7 separate regions of the Homo sapiens genome follow, and all the other regions are linked to region 7. Evidence: promoter capture Hi-C in 16 types of primary human blood cells and fetal thymus (Javierre and others, 2016). All regions are on one chromosome and are shown on one strand. Each heading gives the region's core, a stretch centred on a gene start or on the middle of the fragment in contact. The rest is flanking DNA. Distances are from core to core; before and after follow the strand shown.

The links. Contacts are between HindIII fragments. The CHiCAGO score rates a contact against its expected background, and 5 or more counts as called.
Region 1: a contact is called between the fragment with the promoter of SLC43A1 here and the fragment with the promoter of OR5B21 in region 7, in 9 of 17 cell types (megakaryocytes, naive CD8 T cells, activated CD4 T cells and 6 more). The highest score is 13.5, in megakaryocytes.
Region 2: the fragment with the promoter of SMTNL1 here is called in contact with the fragment with the promoter of OR5B21 in region 7 in 4 of 17 cell types (naive CD8 T cells, naive CD4 T cells, non-activated CD4 T cells and 1 more); the score reaches 9.6 in naive CD8 T cells.
Region 3: a contact is called between a fragment that was not itself captured here and the fragment with the promoter of OR5B21 in region 7, in 2 of 17 cell types (naive CD8 T cells and endothelial precursors). The highest score is 8.0, in naive CD8 T cells.
Region 4: a fragment that was not itself captured here is called in contact with the fragment with the promoter of OR5B21 in region 7 in 1 of 17 cell types (naive CD8 T cells); the score reaches 5.8 in naive CD8 T cells.
Region 5: a fragment that was not itself captured here is called in contact with the fragment with the promoter of OR5B21 in region 7 in 4 of 17 cell types (total CD8 T cells, naive CD8 T cells, naive CD4 T cells and 1 more); the score reaches 9.3 in total CD8 T cells.
Region 6: a contact is called between a fragment that was not itself captured here and the fragment with the promoter of OR5B21 in region 7, in 1 of 17 cell types (total CD8 T cells). The highest score is 5.8, in total CD8 T cells.

What each region holds. Positions count from the first base shown.
Region 1 is chr11:57,514,252-57,516,951 of GRCh38, forward strand. It overlaps SLC43A1 (solute carrier family 43 member 1), which reads right to left and starts at 1,451. Exons shown (of 15, transcript NM_003627.6): 1 at 1,193-1,451. RefSeq lists an enhancer at 1,605-1,674. The HindIII fragment of the contact is 5,778 bases long and covers 1-2,700 here.
Region 2 is chr11:57,536,159-57,539,031 of GRCh38, forward strand. It overlaps SMTNL1 (smoothelin like 1), which reads left to right and starts at 1,437. Exons shown (of 8, transcript NM_001105565.3): 1 at 1,437-1,484. The HindIII fragment of the contact is 14,036 bases long and covers 357-2,873 here.
Region 3 is chr11:57,659,850-57,662,549 of GRCh38, forward strand. It overlaps CLP1 (cleavage factor polyribonucleotide kinase subunit 1), which reads left to right. Exons shown (of 3, transcript NM_006831.3): 2 at 1-233; 3 at 916-2,016. The coding sequence ends at 1,587. Among named protein-coding and RNA genes, the nearest start is that of CLP1, 3.4 kb to the left of the region's middle. The HindIII fragment of the contact is 2,449 bases long and covers 220-2,668 here.
Region 4 is chr11:57,624,245-57,627,204 of GRCh38, forward strand. No RefSeq gene overlaps it. Among named protein-coding and RNA genes, the nearest start is that of MIR130AHG, 13 kb to the right of the region's middle. The HindIII fragment of the contact is 8,519 bases long and covers 1-2,960 here.
Region 5 is chr11:57,680,540-57,683,430 of GRCh38, forward strand. ZDHHC5 (zDHHC palmitoyltransferase 5) reads left to right here. Exons shown (of 12, transcript NM_015457.3): 3 at 1,883-2,004. Among named protein-coding and RNA genes, the nearest start is that of ZDHHC5, 14 kb to the left of the region's middle. The HindIII fragment of the contact is 2,243 bases long and covers 324-2,566 here.
Region 6 is chr11:57,581,708-57,584,659 of GRCh38, forward strand. No RefSeq gene overlaps it. Among named protein-coding and RNA genes, the nearest start is that of SERPING1, 15 kb to the right of the region's middle. RefSeq lists a silencer at 699-866. The HindIII fragment of the contact is 2,742 bases long and covers 272-2,952 here.
Region 7 is chr11:58,506,762-58,509,461 of GRCh38, forward strand. It overlaps OR5B21 (olfactory receptor family 5 subfamily B member 21), which reads right to left and starts at 1,344. Exons shown (of 1, transcript NM_001005218.3): 1 at 46-1,344. The coding sequence starts at 1,344. The coding sequence ends at 415. The region is part of intron 2 of LOC105369313 (a long non-coding RNA gene); the gene reads right to left. The HindIII fragment of the contact is 6,996 bases long and covers 201-2,700 here.

The DNA.
Region 1 (2,700 bases), core at 201-2,700, 990 kb before region 7:
CCTGGGCTTCCCAGCCGGTGCCAAGGAGCTGGCTCCGCGCGCACTAGCAGTGCCAGAGGTGCACGCGGCACGGGGCTCCCGCTGAGCCACTATCGGAAACAAGGAAGGTCCTGTCTGCGCGCTGCAGCTTCCTAGCAGGCTGCCGGGTTCTCTCACCCAGGCCAGGGCGCTCAGGGCCGGGCTGCTGGGGAGAAAGTCCGCATCTGCCCAGGTCCCCAGAGGACAGCAAGGGGCAGAGCGCGCTCTGAAGCACCGCGGGCCCATGTCCGGACTCTCGCGCCAGGAAAGACCCCTAGAAGCTGGCAGGAAGAAGGGCAAGTTCAAGGCTACCCTACGACCCCATCTTCCAGTTGCCCCTCCAAGACCTCTCCTTCCCTCTGGGGCCGGGCGACAGCAAGCCCTCCCCCTTTCCGTATCAGGTGACCCACGACCCTACAGTCTCTCGGGCCAAGCCAACAGCTGCCACGTGGAGGGAGACCCAGGACGGGCTCTCCTCGGTTCCCTCCTCCCCCGCGCGCCCCTCACTCACTCCGCAGGGCTCGGGGCACCAGGCTTTGCACCTCGGAACCCGCTTGCCCCCCTCCAGCCCCGGGAGGGGGCTCGGACTTCGGCAGGAAGTCTGGCGGCTGCTGACTTTATAAGGGCAGCGGTGGCGGATGGGCTGGCGGGCGGGTGTGTTTACCAAAGGGAGGGAAAGAGCCCCAGCTCCCCCCGCCGCGGCCGCTGCAGCCTCGGCGGGAGGAGAGGGAACGCGGGCGGCGCGGGGGCGGGGAGCGACAACTGGGATGAGACCGAGGAAAGCGGAGAGGAGAAGGGCAAGAAAGACCCAGAGAGAGGGGAGGAAGTACCAGTCACTTCTTCCAGGGGGACTCGGTATTCTCATCTGTGAAACGGGGCTTTGGGTTCAAGCGCTCCAGGAGGTCCGCTGGAACTCTGGCAAACGCGCAGCTCTAAGCAGAGGAAGTGCAGCGAGCGGGGACCCGGGAGGAAGAGAAGAGTCGGAGGGGTCAGAGAAAAGAAAAGGGAAGGACGCGCTTGGCGAGATGGGACACTGTGCCGCGGGACCGCGGGCGCAAGTAACGGTCTTTCCTTGGGAAGCCTGGCAGTGTCGGCGGGAGCCGGCCTCGGTGTCTCTCAGCCGACGCATAGCCGGAGACCCTACGCGCGCCCCCTCCCCGCCCACGCTGCTCACCTCCGGTCACCGGCAAATGAGCAGCCAGCAGCTGCGGACGCCTCCGGGAGCGCAACGCTTTCGCGGCGCGTCCGGAGTCCCGTGGGCCCAGCCCTGAGCCGCGCCGGCGCTGGGGTCTTCTCTGCGTGCAGGACCCGGCGGCCACGGAGCTTCAGCCTGACAGCCCGGTGGCCTCGCCTCCGCTGTCTCCTCGGAAGAAGCGGGGGAACTGGGAACCCGCCGGGCGCCAGAGGTCTGCGAAGCTGGGCTTGGATGAAGTGGATCTGCGGAGTTGATAGTTGTATTTACACGCGTCCGGAGCTGCGCCCCGAGGTGGGGGCGGGGGCTCCCTTCTTTTCCCCTCCCCTTAGGTCGAGTTTCACGCGCACGTGACTCGCCCGCTGGTCCCGGACACTCTCCCTCTGGCACAGCCCCAGCACCTACATTTCCACCCTGGACCCCCATCTTCTCCCCCAAGCCCCCAGACTAACATCAGGCAGCGCCCTCTGTATCCTTGTTCAAAACAAAGTGCGATTCGGCTGAAGCCGACTGACCGCGATTCAGGGCCGCCTTGGGTGGGGTTTTGAACTGTGCAGCTGGAAGCAGTGTTTTCCGAGAGGCAGAGTGGCACGGGTTTCTTTGGAGTTAGTCAGATCGAGGTCTGAGTCTTGACTTTTTAACTGACTACCCTGGGTTACCTAGGGCAAGTTACCTCTCTGAGCCTCAGCTTCCTCCTCTTTAAATTCGGTTAAAATGGAACCTACCTAACTGCCCAAAGGAATCGCGATTGTGATGCAGGTAAAATGCTAAGCATAGCATTTGGCATAGTAAGCATAATGTTAATTGTTGCTGCTGTCATTATTTCAGAAGACCTGGTGATCGGATGCTTCCAGATCAACAATTGATTGACTCCAGGTAAATCTCTCAGCCTCCCTGAGCCTCAGTATCCTCATCTGTAAAATAGACTACTATGGTGTGGAGTAATGAGAAGTAATCTCATTACATGTGAGTTTAATTGTGTGTTAAGAGTGCTGCTAATGCATGCTGAGCTTAATACCTAGGTGATGGGTTGATAGGTGCAATAAACCACCACGGCATACATTTACCTACGTAACAAACCTGCACATTCTGCACATGTACCCCAGAACTTAAAATAAAAATAAAATTTTTTTAAAAAAAGAGTGATACTGGTGGCCAGGTGTGGTGGTTCATGCCTGTAATCCCAGAACTTTGGGAGGCCAAGGCAGGAGGATCGCTTGAGCTCAGGAGTTCGAGACCAACCTGGACAACATGGTGAAACCCCGTCTCTACAAAAAAGAAAAAAAAATAGCCAGGCATGGTGGTGTGCACCTGCAGTCTCAGCTACCCAGCAGGCTGAAGTGGGAGGATCACTGAGCTGGAGAGATGGAGGCTGCAGTGAGCCAAGATCATGCCACTACACTCCAGCCTGGGTGACAGAGTAAGACTCTGTCTCAAAAACAAAACAAGAATGACTACAGAAAGCTCCAAGAAGGCCTCAGATAAAAGGG
Region 2 (2,873 bases), core at 187-2,686, 970 kb before region 7:
TGGGATCTAGGCATACAGCCATGAGTATGGTAGATAAAATCCCTGCCCTCATGGAGCTTAAAGCCTAGTGAGAGAGTCAGATAATAAGGAAATGAATAAGGTAATTTTAGATTTAGTATTATGAGGACAATAAAAACTGCTGAAATGAGGGAGAGGAATTGAAGGTCATGGAAAACCTCTCTGAGGGAATGAAATTTCAGCTAAGTCCAGAAGAATGAGAGGGAGGCAGTCTTACAAAGAGTAGAAGGAAAAACCAGTCCTGAGTCTGAAAAGGGATGGATTTATTTAAGGAATAGGAAGGAGGCCAGTGTGGCCCAGTGGTGGGGCTTGGGGTAGGAGGACTGGGGGGGATCCCAAGCTTCGTGGGAGTGTCCTCTGCACCCATTCTCCAAAAGTAGTGCCTTTCTTAGATTGTAAAACACACAGAGAAAGTGAAGACTTTTTTTTGAGATGGAGTCTCTGTCACCCAAGCTGGAGTGCAGTGACTTGCTGCAACCTCTGCCTCCCAGGTTCAAGCAGTTCTCGTGCCTCAGCCTCCCAAGTAGCTGAGATTACAGGCATGCGCCACCAAGCCCGGCCAATTTTTGTATTTGTAGTAGAGACAGGGTTTCACCCTGTTGACCATGCTGTTCTTGAACTCCTGGCTTCAAGCAATCCACCCGCCTCGGCTGCCCAAAGTGCTGGGATTACAGGCATGAGCCACCATGCCCAGGCTTGTTTTGTTTTTTTCTTAGCAAAATGTCAGTTCAGTATAAAAATGTGTTCAGAGCCTACTGTGTACCTGTCACTTCAGCTCAAAATAGAACTCAGGAGTTTTGTATTTTCCAGGCTCCGTCCAGTGATCCGTCAGCTTGTCCCATCACTTTTGCCCTCTCTGCCCCTCCCCCTCCAAATCTCTCAGTCAACTGTGAGCCCCAAGACACATCCCCTGTGTTGGCAGCTGCCCTACTCGCCCCCTCCTTAGCCCAGCCTTAAGCAGCTGCTTTTGTCTGAGGACGAGGGAAAGGGGCTATGTAAGGAACGTGGCGGGGTGGGTGTGAAGGGAGCACAAGAGGCCTCGCCTGGGCTCTGGATGAGCAGTGGAGGCCAGGGCCATGCTCTAAATGAGTCCTGAAGATGGTTGTCAAGGTCCCTAGGGTTAGGAGAGTCCACTGGGGAGAAAGATGACCACAGGACGGATGCTGCCAGGCTCAGGGCGGAAGGGACGTGCCGTGATTGAAAGGTGCCACCTGTCAGATCTTCCACGGGAAATCCGAGCCTCCCAGTCTAGGGTAAAGTGTTGTACCAACAGGCCAGTAAACAATGCTCTTCAGGCAGCCCAAGACTCTTGAAGTGGGGGTGGGGTGGAAGAGGGAGAGGAAGGGGGGAGGCGGGACCAAAGAGCTGGGGGCTAGAGGCCACTGGGGCTTAAAGGCAGCCTGGGAGTGAGGCCACTCAGCTGGAGCAAAGAGACAGCTCCCAAGCCACAGGCAGAAGCCCCACAGGTAGGAGAAGCCCTGGCACCCTTTCTAAGGGTCCCTCCCCATCTGCCAATTCTCACTCCCACTGTCCAAGGGCCAGAGCCTCCCAGGAGGGCCCCCCATTTGGAGAAATCCAGGCTCCTTTCTAATTCTCTCCACCACAATGTCTACTCTCTTTAGATGCCTGGGGTCTCAGCCCTGCACCAGAGCACCTACAGAGCAGACTGCAAGTGGCCATCCACGAGGAGGCCACAGAGCAGGGGAGGGGACCTTGGGAGTCTCAAGAGTCAAACTGGGTTGGGGGGTAGACTGTCTAAGCCAAGCCTGTCCAGCCCACAGGCTACCTGTGGCCCAGGATGGCTTTGAATGTAGCCCAACATGAATTCATAAACTTTCTTAAAACATTATGAGATTTTTTTTTTTTTTGCAATTTTTGTTTTAGCTCATCCACTATCGTTAGTGTTAACGTATTTTACATGTGGCCCAAGACACTTCTACTTCTACCAGTGTGGCTCAAGGAAGCCAAAAGATTGGATACCCCTAGTCTAAGCAATTGAGGTCGGCCTCTCCAAGGGAGGGCCCCTGGCTGAGTGGGGAAGGTGGAAGCCTTAGGACAACCAGATGACAGATGAGGCTGCAGTGGGTGGCAGACGCACCACAGAACATCCAGTGTTTATACTACTGGGAGTTTGGATCTTGGGCTCCTGGGTCCCTTTCCTCCTGGTCTGCCAGAAGAAACAGGAAGAGAGAGGGAGGGGAGATATCTGCAGTGCTGCTTTGGACACAAAACAGGGATGGTTTGGAGACTTCCTGGGGAAGGAAGGAGGAAGGAAAGGAGAGAATAAGAAAGGAAGGTGGGGGCAGAGAAACTTTCATGAAGGGCCTACTGTGCACCTAGAAGAAAGAGGGAGGAACTCCTCGGCTGAATCTGACTGCCCTTCCCAACTGGTGGGGTGCCCCCACTCTGGGCCAGGGCCTTTGTAGGGACACTGGGCTGCGGAGCTAGTGGGAGCATATATTTGATGTGAGCTCTGGAGTGGAAGTTGGGATACTTGGATTCTAGATAGAGAGCCAGGCCACTTGTCCTATAACTTTAGTCAAGGGACTTCAACTCCCTGAGCCTGAAATCCCCATTGGCTCCCTAATGGGGCCAATAACCTATTCTGAAGGGTCGGAGCAAGAAATGACCAAGAGAAAGCAGGGCCTCCGCAGCATAAGCTGTAAACTGCTGTAGGGCTGTGAATGCTGGGGGTGGGTGGTGGCGTCCTGGTTTCTCAGCATTCTGAGCATCTTCACTCCTTTTCTATTTGTGACAAGCCTGGAGGGTGGAAAGCTGAGGTGATAAACACGCAGGATAGCCGAGGTGTGTGTCCGTGTGCGTGCACCTACCCTTCCCCTCCACCACCCTAAGTA
Region 3 (2,700 bases), core at 194-2,693, 850 kb before region 7:
TGGGCAAGTCTACAGTGTGTCGCCTTCTGCTCAACTACGCAGTGCGTTTGGGCCGCCGTCCCACTTATGTGGAGCTGGATGTGGGCCAGGGTTCTGTGTCCATCCCTGGTACCATGGGGGCCCTCTACATCGAGCGGCCTGCAGATGTCGAAGAGGGTTTCTCTATCCAGGCCCCTCTGGTGTATCATTTTGGTTCCACCACTCCTGGCACTAACATCAAGCTTTATAATAAGGTCAGAGCCAGAGAAAGGTGGGGTGGAGGGAAGGGCTGCTATCAGGGTAGGAAACTGGAGAAGTTTACTAGTTAACACTGCATTTTCTCAGCTGGTATTTCTGCTGCATTACTTTAGAAAGGCAATTCCAAATATGTCAGTCTCAGATTGTTAAACATTTCTGTGGATCTATTCTTAGTAATTTGTTAGATTTTCACTTAGGGCATAAAACAGGAGGCAGAAGCAGCAACATAAAAATTAAATCCATGTTATGGTATCAAAACTACAGCCATTAAAAATGTCATTTTTTCAGGCTGGGTACAGTGGCTCATGCCTGTAATCCCACAACTTGGGAGGCTGAGACGGGTGGATCACCTGAGGTCAGGAGTTGGAGAGCAGCCTGGCCAACATGGTGAAACCTTGTCTCTACTAAAAATACAAAAAGTAGCTGGGCGTGGTGGCTGGTGCCTGTAATCCCAGCTGTTCAGAGACTGAGGCAGGAGAATCACTTGAACGCGGGAGGTGGAGGTTGCAGTGAGCTGAGATCGTGCCACTGCACTCCATCCTGGGCAACAGAGTGAGACTCCATTTCAAAAAAAAAATCATTTTTCTTATATCTAATAGCACTTATTCTAAAGAGGAACAAAGTAGCCATGGGTTTGTCTGGGTGTTTTTGTTCTTACCTTGATCCTCTCTTTTGCAGATTACATCTCGTTTAGCAGATGTGTTCAACCAAAGGTGTGAGGTGAACCGAAGGGCATCTGTGAGTGGCTGTGTCATTAACACCTGTGGCTGGGTCAAGGGCTCTGGTTACCAGGCTCTGGTGCATGCAGCCTCAGCTTTTGAGGTGGATGTCGTTGTTGTTCTGGATCAAGAACGACTGTACAATGAACTGAAACGGGACCTCCCCCACTTTGTACGCACTGTGCTGCTCCCTAAATCTGGGGGTGTGGTGGAGCGCTCCAAGGACTTCCGGCGGGAATGTAGGGATGAGCGTATCCGTGAGTATTTTTATGGATTCCGAGGCTGTTTCTATCCCCATGCCTTCAATGTCAAATTTTCAGATGTGAAAATCTACAAAGTTGGGGCACCCACCATCCCAGACTCCTGTTTACCTTTGGGCATGTCTCAAGAGGATAATCAGCTCAAGCTAGTACCTGTCACTCCTGGGCGAGATATGGTGCACCACCTACTGAGTGTTAGCACTGCCGAGGGTACAGAGGAGAACCTGTCCGAGACAAGTGTAGCTGGCTTCATTGTGGTGACCAGTGTGGACCTGGAGCATCAGGTGTTTACTGTTCTGTCTCCAGCCCCTCGCCCACTGCCTAAGAACTTCCTTCTCATCATGGATATCCGGTTCATGGATCTGAAGTAGAGATCAGCAGGAAGCCTTGCTGCCTGGGACATAGAGATCATCTGGCCACCCCTAGAGGCAGATGGGCTGAGATAAAAGACTGTTGGGGCCACCTGACCAGTAAACTGTGGACTAGTAGAAAGTTCATATTCTACCTCTAAAAACAGGTAGTGGTAACCTGACTCTTCTAATCTTGAACCAAAAGGAAAACCATGAGACTGTAATTGGTTTCTTAGACCACCTAAGATGCCACTTTGAATTCTCTAAGACCCTGGAGAATTGCATTTCTTTCACTGTGCTACTATGTGGTTTTTAAAAAATCAATGCTTTATATTCCATATGTGGTTCTTACCCATTTATCTAGGATGAAAGTGTGAATTAGAGGGACTCCTTCCAATAAAGTTCAAACTTAAAAAAAATCATTTTAATAAATATTTTTGCCATATCATAGAAGTTGGTATAATTTATTTTTTTCCCCTAAGCGTTATAGAAACATAATTGGAATGATTTATTGCTAAAATGCTTGGAGGAGGGGAAAACCAAGAAACCTACCTGTGAGCCACGTCAGGTTTTTTTTTTTGGTGGTGGTGGTGGTTGTTTTTGTAAGAGTCTCACACTGTCACCTGGGCTGGAGTGCAGTGGCGTGATCTTGGCTCACTGCAACCTCTGCCTCCCAGGTTCAAGTGATTCTCCTGCCTCAGCCTCCCAAATAGCTGGGGTTACAGGTGCCCGCCACCACGCCCAGCTAATTTTTTGTATTTCTTTTAGTAGGGACAGGGTTTCACTATGTTGGCCAGGCTGGTCTCAAACTCCTGACCTCATGATCTGCCTGCCTCGGCCTCCCAAAATGCTGGGATTACAGGTGTGAGACACTGTGCCCGGCTGTGAGTTCTTATGATAGTTCACCTTTCCTCTGCGCTTAGGTAAGTAGATGGTAAATCTGCTGTCAGTGCTGGATTTACTGTGGGGAGTTAGAGGCTGGTGATAATCTTGGAATGAGATTTCATATCTAATCATTTTCCAGAGATAGCTCATTTTCCTTCCAGTACAGCTATCCTTGTCTATTTGATTGGAACTAGGCCCTAAGTCAAAGTGTAACTTAAGCTTTCAGGTGGTAAGAAACTGGGAAAGCCC
Region 4 (2,960 bases), core at 328-2,827, 880 kb before region 7:
GCCAGACTGTCAGGCCTGGAGCCCCAGTCCCTGGCCATCTAGCTCTGCTTCATCAGAACTGAGTTTCCTGGCGATTCCTCTGGGGCCCAGAGTGAACCTCACTAGAACACTTGCCCTCTTGCTGAAATAATTTTTAAAATCTCCTAGGAGGCAGGGACCGTATCTTTTTGTCATTATCCTCTGTTCTGAGCATGGAGCCTGGAACCTACAGAGTTGACACTCAGTACATATTAGCTAAAATAAAATGAAGCAAAACAAAACAGAACAAAAATGCATTTCCAGATCCTATTTATTTATTTATTTATTTATTTATTTATTTATTGAGACAGAGTTTCGCTCTGTTGCCCAGACTGGAGTGCAGTGGCACGATCTTAGCTCACTGCAACCTCTGGCCTCCTGGGTTCAAGTGATTCTCTTGCCTCAGCCTCCCAAGTAGCTGGGATTAGAGGCACACGCCACCACGCCCGACTAATTTTTGCATTTTTAGTAGAGACAGGGTTTCACCACGTTGGCCAGGCTGGTCTCGAACTCCTGACCTCAAGTGATCTGCCCGCCTTGGCCTCCCAAAGTGCTGGGATTACAGGCATGAGCCACCAGCCTGGTCTCTACAGATCCTGTTCATTTAAATGCTGCCATTCTTCTAAGCCCAGTGCAATTCTCCAACAGTGTTTTCTGCTTTTCCCAGCCAATAGCACCTCCTCCATCTTTAGACATAGTGCTGAACTTACACTGCCATGTAAAATCAGTAGCATGTACACAAATATTTGGCTTTCCCCTCCAACCACTAGGAAACTCCTTGTGAATCTGATTCAGGACATCTCTGGTCCCACCTATGCCTATAAATGGTCAGCAAACACTTTTGATTCAAAGTGTGCAGTGTCTATATTTGAGCAAAGTTTTGTTTTGTTTTGTTTCGTTTTGTTTAGAGACAAAGTTTTGCACTTGTTGCCCAGGCTGGAGTTGGCACAATCTTGGCTCACTGCAAGCTCCGCCTCCTGGGTTCAAGCAATTCTCCTGCCTCTGCCTCCCAAGTAGCTGGGATTACAGGCACCTGCCACCATGCCCGGCTAATTTTTTGTATTTTTAGTAGAGATGGGGTTTCACTACGTTGGCCAGGCTGCTCTCAAACTCCTGACCTCAGATGATCCACCCGCCTCAGCCTCCCAAAGTGCTGGGATTACAAGTGTGAGCCACCGCACATGGCCAAGCAAAGTTTTTTATTTTACAATGATGACATTAATGTTATTCTTATTTTATGTATCTCCTCTGGAGACTGGTGGAGCTAGGAATACCAAAGCATAGCTTCTCATAGTCATTATCAGCTAGGGTTTTGCCTTACAAATTATCTTTCAACTAGAGGAATTATACCTCTGTGTTTGGATGTTCTTTCCTCCTCCCTGCTGCCCCGTGTCTTTGATTCTTGGGATCAGGACTCCATGGCTTTAGTCAGAAGGGGTGAAGATGATTCTTACCCTTTAAGTAAGTAAGCACCTGGAGTCTGGAATTGTTCTAGGATTAAACAAGGCCACAGCCCTGTGAATTGCCTTATCTACTCAAATAGGCCGTCTAAAGAGAATCTATACTTTGTTATCGTCCTAGAGGCCTTCTTGCTTTCCACTAATTTATACATATTATCTACTGGCCAGGTGCGGTGGCTCACGCCTGTAATCCCAGAACTTTGGGAGGCCAAGGCGGGTGGATCACCTGAGGTCATGTGTTCAAGACCAGCCTGGCCAACATGGAGAAAGCCCATCCCTACTAAAAATACAAATATTAGTCAGGTGTGGTGGTGCACACCTGTAATCCCAGCTACTCAAGAGGCTGAAGCAGGAGAATCGCTAGAACCTGGGAGGCCAAGGTTGCAGTGAGCCGAGGTTTCCATTGGTTACTTGGTGTACGCCTTATGTAAATGAAGAGGATGAAGGAAAGTTACAAAGTCATTTACTCTGTGTACACCCTATGTAAACAAGAGGATATTTCCTGTCACAGCTGAAGTGTTTCCATTTGATTTAGTTCTAGAAAGTCCTTAGGTTCTCTGCCTCCAGGCCCTATTCTCCTGCCTCAATCATAGATCACTGCAGCCTTGAGGTCCTGGGCTCAAGCTCAGGTCCCACCTCAGCTTCCTGAGTAGCTGGGACCACAGGCCCGCACCACCATGCCCAGCTATTTTAATTTTTTTTTTTTTGAGATGGAATCTTGCTCTGTCGCCCAGGTTGGAGTGCAGTGTTGCGATCTCGGCTCACTGCAACCTCCGCCTCCTGGATTCAAGCAATTCTCTTGCCTCAGCCTCCCGAATAGCTGGGACTACAGGCGCCCACCACCACGCCCAGCTAATTTTCGTATTTTTAGTAGAGACGGGGTTTCACCATATTGGCCAGGCTGGTCTCGAACTCCTAACCTTATGATCCGCACGCCTCAGCCTCCTAAAGTCCTATTTTTTTTTTTTAAGAGGCCAGGTGTGGTGGCTCACACCTGTAATCCCAGCACTTTGGGAGGCCAAGGCGGGTGGATCCTCTGAGGTCAGGACTTCTGCCATTTTCCCATTCATTTATTCAAGTTTTAATTGAGTACTTACTTGTGCTAGGCACTGTTGTGGCAGCGGACAAACTGTTCAACAAGACAGAGCTCTTGTTCTCTGAACTTTAATGGACTGGTAATGTCTCCCTTCACTTCTCTCCATGTGATATGAAGTGTCCCAGTGTGTGTAGGGGATGTGGGAAAACAATTGAAATGTGGGGAAAATTTTGAAATGTGGCCGTGGAAGACTGATTTTCTCTTGCCTAAGATTTCCTTAGAATGTCCACTTTGGAGTAATGTGGGAGACAGTCCTGCCCTGGCTTATCTTGGGGTTTGGGATTAGGTCAGGGCTACATTATGAAATCAGTAAATTCTCCTAAGAATCCACAAACCAGACTAGTTCTTTCAGTTTCTCCAGGGTCCAAAGAGCTGTAGCTACCAAA
Region 5 (2,891 bases), core at 195-2,694, 830 kb before region 7:
AGACTTTTAAATCATGGGCACCTCAGTGTTCTAAGGATTTAATTTCTTTTTCCCTTCTAATTATCTTCCCAGGCTGTAGGAGTCAAGTGAGTCACCCTTTCTCTTCTTCCCCAGGCGGAAATTGAAGTGACAACTTAGTACTAGGGAGGGGCTCTGACCTGGATGACTGGTTTTCAGTTTCTCTCCCTCCTTCTTAAGGAACCTAGGAGGTCAGGCTTTGGGGTGAGGCGGTGCAGGAACTCTTCTTTTTGCTTATATTCCACTCCAAACCCTGCCAATGTATGGAGACATCTTTTCTGAACCAAAGAACTCACAGAGGAAGAAGCTTCCATGGGGGGCTTTCTTTGAGGATAGTATAGAACTATGACTGAAGGTCTGTTTAGTCCCTAAAATTGATGCCCTTGCTCCAGCTTCGTTATTTTGTCTGCTAATTGTGTACTGACATATCAAGAGAACCAAACAGCTAATGGATATTTACTATCTAAAAAGCCTGGCATATAATAAATACTAAAAACTTTTCAAAATGAATGGCTGAATGGAATTTGAATAAATAGATGGTGGTGGTAAAGATTTGTGAGATGCTTTGTGACAGTTTTGTCTCTTATCTTGATTTGCTTGTATCTCGTTAAGGAACTGAGTTCCTCCAAACTGCTCTGAGTCAGTCTCAGGGCTGTGCTTTTTGTTTTGGTGGGTGCAGATACCTTTTCTTCACAGAATCCCAGACTGCTGTGGTTTAATTCTCTGGAATCATATGCTGTCTTGTTCTCCTGTCCTCTTCTTCCTTTCCTTCAGTGAGTTCTTCCTTTGCTTTGACTGGTTCAGATAAAGGGGACAAGGACAGATGCTGTCCTCATTCTGGAGATTAAGTTCTCAGCCACAAAGTAGATTAGAGTATTTATCCACTGTCTTGGTAGTGGGAACTTCTCCCTGAGCTGAGACGAGAGTGTTTGATACTACTGACAAAAAAGTAGCACATCAGGTTCTTCCAAAACTTCCAGCTCCCAGGAAATCAGCAGAGAAAGGAAGAGCTCTTGAAGCATTCCTACGTAGATTCAAATCCTGAAAGAAACTGAGTTTAATTCTGGACTAGAGAATTGTTTTTTTGATCAAGAAAAGTTACCTTAAAGCATATCTTGAGTTGACTGCTGTGGAATACTGGGTATGTTTGGGTAGTTTCTTTTTCCTACAAAATTGAGGGCTTCTTTGGTCTGATAGTCTCTATCCTCCCCCATTCCTGCTTCATTTTTAGACATCAAAGGGTTTACTTCTGTGTCTTGATATCCATTCTCATCTGTGTGTTTTAAAAGAATTTCCCAACCTTAAGAACTGGCCTGTAGTTGAGTAAACTCTCAGGCATATCCAATGCAATGGAGATACTTTAGGCACTTATGTGGTTCAGTCCCCTGGCAAGGGGGAGGCGGGGGCTAGAAAGGTAGGTGGTATCCCATGCTTTGGGCCAATGTGCAGGTCAATGGGACATAGCTGGGATCCAGAAACCTCAGGCTGCTCCAGAGAAGGGAGTGTAGCTGATATCATAGTCAGTACCTGGTTCTCATGTCTGGTTAGAAAGGAGATAAGGACAGATCTCAAAACATGTGGCAAGATCCACAGGGTAGGAATGAATCTGAAGCACAAAGACCTTAGTGCAACAGGTTAAGATGGGAGAGATTCTGAGTCTTGTACTTTTATCTAAAGTGAGCAGTTCCCATAGGAAACTAGACTCACTTAGTGGGAAAGATAAAGATAATAATTTGGGATGGCAAAGGTAAACCACACAAGATTTATCTATAGGTAAGGGGCTAAGTCTTTACAGATTTTTGTATGTATGGTTCGTGTCCAAAATATTAGAGGCAACCCCTCATTTTCTTTATTGTCTGTGCAGGTGTCCAGGACTAAGCCTGTATGTGTCACCTGCAGTGCCCATCTACAATGCAATTATGTTTCTCTTTGTGTTGGCCAACTTCAGCATGGCCACCTTCATGGACCCAGGGATTTTCCCTCGAGGTAAGATCTGCTTCTCTCTTAGAAGCACCTTACACTGCCTTTGAAAAATAATGAGTTGGCCATACACAGTTGATCTTGGGCCTTAAGAGTCCTGGGATTTTGGGATATGAAAAATAATGATTTGGGCATACGCAGTTGATCTTGGGCCTTAAAGTCCGGGGATTTTGGGATACTTTTATCATTTTCTGATGATGAAAATCAGGTCAGGGTCTTTAGGAATATATGTCATAACTTCTAGTCCTATGATTCACTTTGGGTCAAATCTTTGAGTTTTAGTGATTTGTTCAGCAGAAATTTATTTAAAGCATATGGGTTGGATGCTATTTTTAGGTACAGTAATACCCACAGTGAATTAAGACAGTTATGACAGTGTGATGCAGACTATAATGGAGGCAAGAGCAAGGTTCTGTGAGAATACAAACAATTGAGAACAAAGAAATATGAGAACATATTTTGCCCAAATAAATTGGGGAAATGCTGCTGAAAATAGGTGGGAAAGACTTTACCAAGTAGAATATAGGAGGGAAGGGCATTTTTAGGCAGAGGAAACAGCACATGCAGAAGCTTGTAGCCATGAAATGGCAAACTTAGTGGGGCTAGAGGATGTTATGCATGGTGTGACCAGAGGGATGGGAGGTAAACCCAGAGCCAAATTGTCAAGGACTTTACATACTAAGTTAAATAGATCATACATTTTCCTTTGGATAGGAAGAGGTCTTTAATTGGAGGACTCAACATCAGAATTCCTTTTAGAAAAATAATTCGTGTAAGAATTACAGCTACCTTTTGGGAGGCTGTGGAAATAAACCAGATGAGAACTTGAATTCAAGGCTGGATTTACAGATTTTTTAGTAGTAGACTCAATAATTTTTCATGACTTTTCATGA
Region 6 (2,952 bases), core at 393-2,892, 920 kb before region 7:
CAAACCTGGACCACAATCATATAATAGACATAATTGTCACTGTCAACATCATCAAATCCTGTGTCTGCCAAGTACGGGATGGATCCACCAAAGGGATGTCAAGCAATTTTAGGTGGTATTAAATAACAACGAAATCACAGATTGAGAACATTTTTTCTTTTTCAGTTTCTTTTGATCCTCTTTGATTTCTCAAGGACTAAGTGTCAGTTTAATGCTCTTCATTCTTTAATACCTAACACATGCTAACTCCATTTTTAACACGGAAGGAGGAAGCTTTACTACAGAGATGTCAGCAGGCAGAATCAGCTAGAATTTAGTAACACCATTCTGTTTTTGCTGCGTTTATTTTACAGGTGCATTCATTCCAGGGCTGCATTTGGACTTTCATGGGCCCTAAGCACTTTCGCCTTGGTGTATCTCTTTCTCCATAGTGAGACCCTATCTCTAAAAAAAAAAAATTTAAAAACTAACCGTGTGTGGTGGCATGTGCCTGTAGTCTCAGCTACTCAGGAGGCTGAGGCAAGAGGATTGCTTGAGCCCAGGAGGTCGAGGCTGCAGTAAGCTGTGATTGTGCTACTGCACTCCAGCCTGAGCAACAGAGTGAGACCCTGCCTAAAAAGAAAAATTTTTTTTTGAGATGGAGTCTCACTCTGTTGCCCAGTCTGGAGTGCAGTGGTGTGATCTCAGCTTGCTGCAACCTCCGTCTCCTGGGTCCAAGCGATTCTCCTGCCTCAGCCAACTATCCTGAGTAGCTGAGATTACAGGCGTGCATCACCACCCTCAGCTAATTTTTGTATTTTTAGTAGAGACGAGGTTTCACCATATTGGCCAGGCTGGTCTCAAACTCCTGACCTCAGGTGACCCGCCGGCCTCGGCCTCCCAAAGTGCTGGGATTACAGGCATAAACCACCGTGCCCAGCCAAAAAACTTTTTTTAAATTATACCTTATGATTGCATTGGTATAAATAAGAATATAATCCTGGCTAGATTCATTATTATTATTATTACTATTTTAGACAGTCTCGCTCTGTCACCCAGGCTGGAGTGCAGTGGTGCGATCTCAGGTCACTGCAACCTCCGCCTCCTGGGTTCAAGCGATTCTCCTGCCTCAGCCTCCCGAGTAGCTGAGATTACAGGCGTCCACCATCACGCCCGGCTAATTTTTTGTATTTTTAGTAGAGACGGGGCTTCACCATGTTGGCCAGGCTGGTTTTGAACTCCTGACTTCAAGTGATCCACCCGCCTCAGCCTCCCAAAGTGCTAGGATTACAGGCGTGAGCCACCATGCCCGGCGTTTTTTTTTCTGGTTTTTTTTTTTTGAGACAAAGTCTCACTCTGTTGCCCCGGCTGGAGTGCAGCAGCATGATCTCGGCTCACTGCGACCTTCACCTCCCAGGTCCAAGCAATTCTCATGCCTCAGCCTCCTGAGTAGCTGAGATTACAGGTGCCCACCACAATGTCTGGCTAATTTTTGTATTTTTAGTAGAGACAGGGTTTCACCATGTTGGCCAGGCTGATCTCAAACTCCTGACCTCAAGTGATCCATGCCCTTGGCCTCCCAAAGTGCTGGGATTACAGGTGTGAGCCACCACACCAGGCCTTATTATTTATGCATTGCTATTATATTTATTTTTTTCCTCCTAATTTGAAAAGAAATTACAATTATAACATTTCCATTGGTCCCCGAAAAGCCAACAGACTCAAGGTCCTGTGCCTGGTTGGCCCTGATCCATTCTATTTATGGAGAGTGCTGCCATTTCTCCATTTATAGAGGAGACGTCATTTCCTTTTTATGTGTATTCAAGTAAACAAAAATGAGTCCATTAGACAACATGAAACCAAATAATAGTACATGGGGTGGTAATAATATGGCAAAAATGAAAGCCCTTCATTTTACAGAGGAGAAGAGACTGAGGTCTAGGGATATAACACCTTGTGGAGGTGGGACAGAAATTCCTAGGCTGTCCAGACCCTTCAGGACACTTTGCAGCTCCCCCCAGCACATTCCTGGGAAGGAGATGATCCCTCCCTAGCAGCCAGGGACCAACTCCACAGTGATGCGGGAAGCTCCCAAGTTACCCCACAGCCTGCCCTTGCCAAGACCTAGGCCTAGGTAGTCGGCTTCCCAGAAGACTCTTGGAGAAAACTACTTCAGAATTGGGTTTTGCTTCCATCAGATCATGCTTTGAAACCATTCAAAGGCCAACAAAGGACAAAGTCCCTTTAAATCCAAGCTGACTCACCTTGTTAAAAAAAAAAAAAAAAAGAGGCTGAGCGCAGTGGCTCACGCCTGTAATCCCAGCACTTTGGGAGGCCGAGGTGAGCGGCTCACGAGGTCAGGAGATTGAGACCATCCTGGCTAACACGGGGAAACCCCATCTCTACTAAAAATACAAAAAATTAGCCAGGCGTGATGGCGGGCGCCTGTAGTCCCATCTACTCGGGAGGCTGAGGCAGGAGAATGGCGTGAACCCGGGAAGCGGAGGTTGCAGTGAGCCGAGATCATGCCACTGCACTCCAGCCTGGGCGACAGAGCGAGACTCCGTCTCAAAAAAAAAAAAAAAAAAGAAAAAGAAAAAAAATGAGGGAGCTTTGAAGAAGCGTAAATTAGCATTCAAACTAGGGGGCTTCTTCAAAGGCCTGAAGACTGACTCCTGTCACCCAGGTAGCCACGTCCTGATCAGAGGACACATCCCTGAGATAGAAAGCAGGGCCCCTGACTTCCCCATCCCCCCGGGCTTTTTGTTCTGTCTACTCTTCTATTTTAACCTAACGGAGAAGAGGCTGAAGAGAAAGTCCAGAGGCCTAGCGGGAGAGCTGGAATCCACCAATGGGTGCGCTTTCCGGGTCGGCTTTCCAGGTCAGCTATCTGGATGGCAAATTAGAATGGCAGTGGCAGATGAAAGTGTCCCCTGTGAAAATGCGGACACAGAAAGAGTCCTGTGAGTTAAG
Region 7 (2,700 bases), core at 94-2,593:
AACTTTCAAACTCGCAGAACAAAAGAATAAAAAAGATACTGTGTGTTCAGTTGATAAAAATGAAGGTGAAATCTTTACACCAAGTTTAATAGTGAATGAAAAATTCTTACAATTAAAAACAGGATGAGGAAAATTTGGTACATTCATTTGTATGCTTCAATCTTCTGCTTTAAACCACGTCAAGAAACTAAAGCAAGAAAAGCTTAACTGTCCCATGTTGTTGTTCACTAAATATAAGATTATCTTTCTAAGTAAGACTTTCAACGTGCTGCTTTTTACATCTTCTAATAGCAGAAGTAACCGCTGTTCTTGGGGAAGAAAGAACTGAAACCAGTCAAACGTTAAAAGTCATGATGGCATTTAGGTGTGAGAGAAAGTTTATCCCTTAATTGCTTGCCTACTTCCCATTCACATTTAATATTGGGGGTAAAGTTTGTTGAGTATTTTCCAGAGAGCACTTTTCACTTCTTTGTTCCTAAGGCTGTATATCAAGGGATTCAGCATGGGAATCACCACTGTGTAAAACACAGAGGCTATTTTGTCTGTGTCCACGGACTGGCTGGAGTTGGGCTGTAAGTACATGAAGATGATTGTGCCATAGAAGATGGACAAAGCAGTGAGATGGGAAGCACAGGTGGAGAAGACTTTCTTCTGCCCTTCAGCAGAATGCATCCTCTGAATGGTGATGCATATGAAGAAGTAAGAAATAAGGATGACCAGGAGGGTGAAAAAGACGTTGAAGCCTGCCACAAAGACCACCAACTTGCTGATGCGTGTGTCAGAGCATGAGAGAGCCAGGAGTGGGGGAATGTCACAGAAGAAATGATTAATCTCATTAGAACCACAGAAGGAGAGTCTGAAGGTGCCTGCTGCATGGATAGAGGCATTGAGGAAGCCAGAGACATAGGAACCAGTAGCAAGGAGGGCACACACACCTGCTGTCATGGTGGTGGTGTAATGAAGAGGCCTACATACCGCTGCATGGCGATCATAGGCCATGGAGGCCAGGAGGTAGCACTCAACAGTGGCAAACCCCACAAAGAAGAAGAACTGAGCTGCACATCCATCGTAGGAGATGGCCTTGTCCCCTGACCGCAATGCAGCCACCGTTTTGGGGGCTACAGCTGATGAGTAACCCAAGTCTACAAGGGAGAGGTTACTGAGGAAAAAGTACATTGGAGTGTGGAGATGGGAGTCTGAGTGGATGATCACCATCATTCCCCCATTCCCAAGCAGGGTGATGAGGTAGATGAATAAAAATGCCAGGAGGAGGGGTATCTGAAGATTGGGGTCATCTGTTAATCCCAAGAGGATAAACTCTGTCACTTCTGTGCTATTCTCCATTGTGGCCAGCTTGAATTAGCCTGGTGATTAAAGAAGAGGCGTCAACAAAATTCCAATGAAAGTATGAGAAGGGAGGATGGAATGATAAAAAAGGAGAAAACTAATGTATAGAGAGAATGTACTGTGTGTAACACTCATCCTAGAACCCTCTGTTATATTATAGCTTTTAATTCATATGAGATAGGTGCTATTATGCCCATCTTACAGATAAGGAAGTTAAGGCTCAGGGAGCTGAATATTGAGCAAGATAGCCTATCTAGGGGTCAGAATCAAAGTTCACCCCTTTATATTTCTGAATCTAAAGTTCATACATTCATCTTGAATTCTTTAACACATTTACATCATATAAATACAAATTATGATGTGGATATAAGATTGTATGTATTTAATTATTAAAAATAAAAACATCCATCACTTATTGTCTTCCACATTCTACTTCCAATAATATAGCCTCACTAAAGATTTTCTAAATTTATTTTTCCTTAAAACAACACAAGTTTATTCTCTCAAAATTCTGGAGGCCAGAAGCCTCAAATCAGTTTCACTGGGCCAAAATCAAGGTGTTGGCAGGACAAGGTGGTGCCCTCAAGGTCTGTTTGATACTAAATCCAAAGATCTTAACCACAACTTTTGAAGCCTTTATAAATTAATCCCTCAACAGTAGTTCAACTGAAAGGGAGTATGGTATATGTAAATATGAGTATGTATTTATATATATTTAATATAAAACTATAAATTTGATATATACAAATGGCTTTGTGTATCTGTGTATATGCATATGTCTTTTTTCACCCCTTATCAGAAGTCTTTGCTGTAGACCCTAATTCCAGTTAAGTCCTCCTTTCTCTCCCTCCTCAAAGCACTTGAGTCTTGGCTGATTATTGCACAATTAGCTGGGCAACCACTCACTCTTCACCTAGCTCTAAGCCCCTTGGGACAGTAACTATCTTCATCCCCTCTGGTCCACTCTCCTTACCATGGCCCCTCACACATGTATGTAAATATTTGGTGAATCAAACAGAACATCAATAGGAAAGTATGGAAATATTTTTCATGCTCTTTAATCCCACAACAAACATCCTATCATCCTCTTGTCTACCAGGTTTGTGCTTTGGGCCAAAATATTAGCTTAGACTTGTCATATGAAAAATATTCAGGAGTAACAGTGAGTTTGCAGATGGTCAGGCCTGGAGACAGGTTTCTGTCCTCATTTTAGAGCATTCTTTCTCTCCTATTTTTGTTCCTCAACCTGAGGTGTTCACAGGCTTTCCCCACTCCTAGTAGCAGAGTGAGTGGGAGCAGACTCAGAAGAAGTGAGGGAGAAAATGTGAGAAGAGAGGAGGAAAAAGGAGAAAA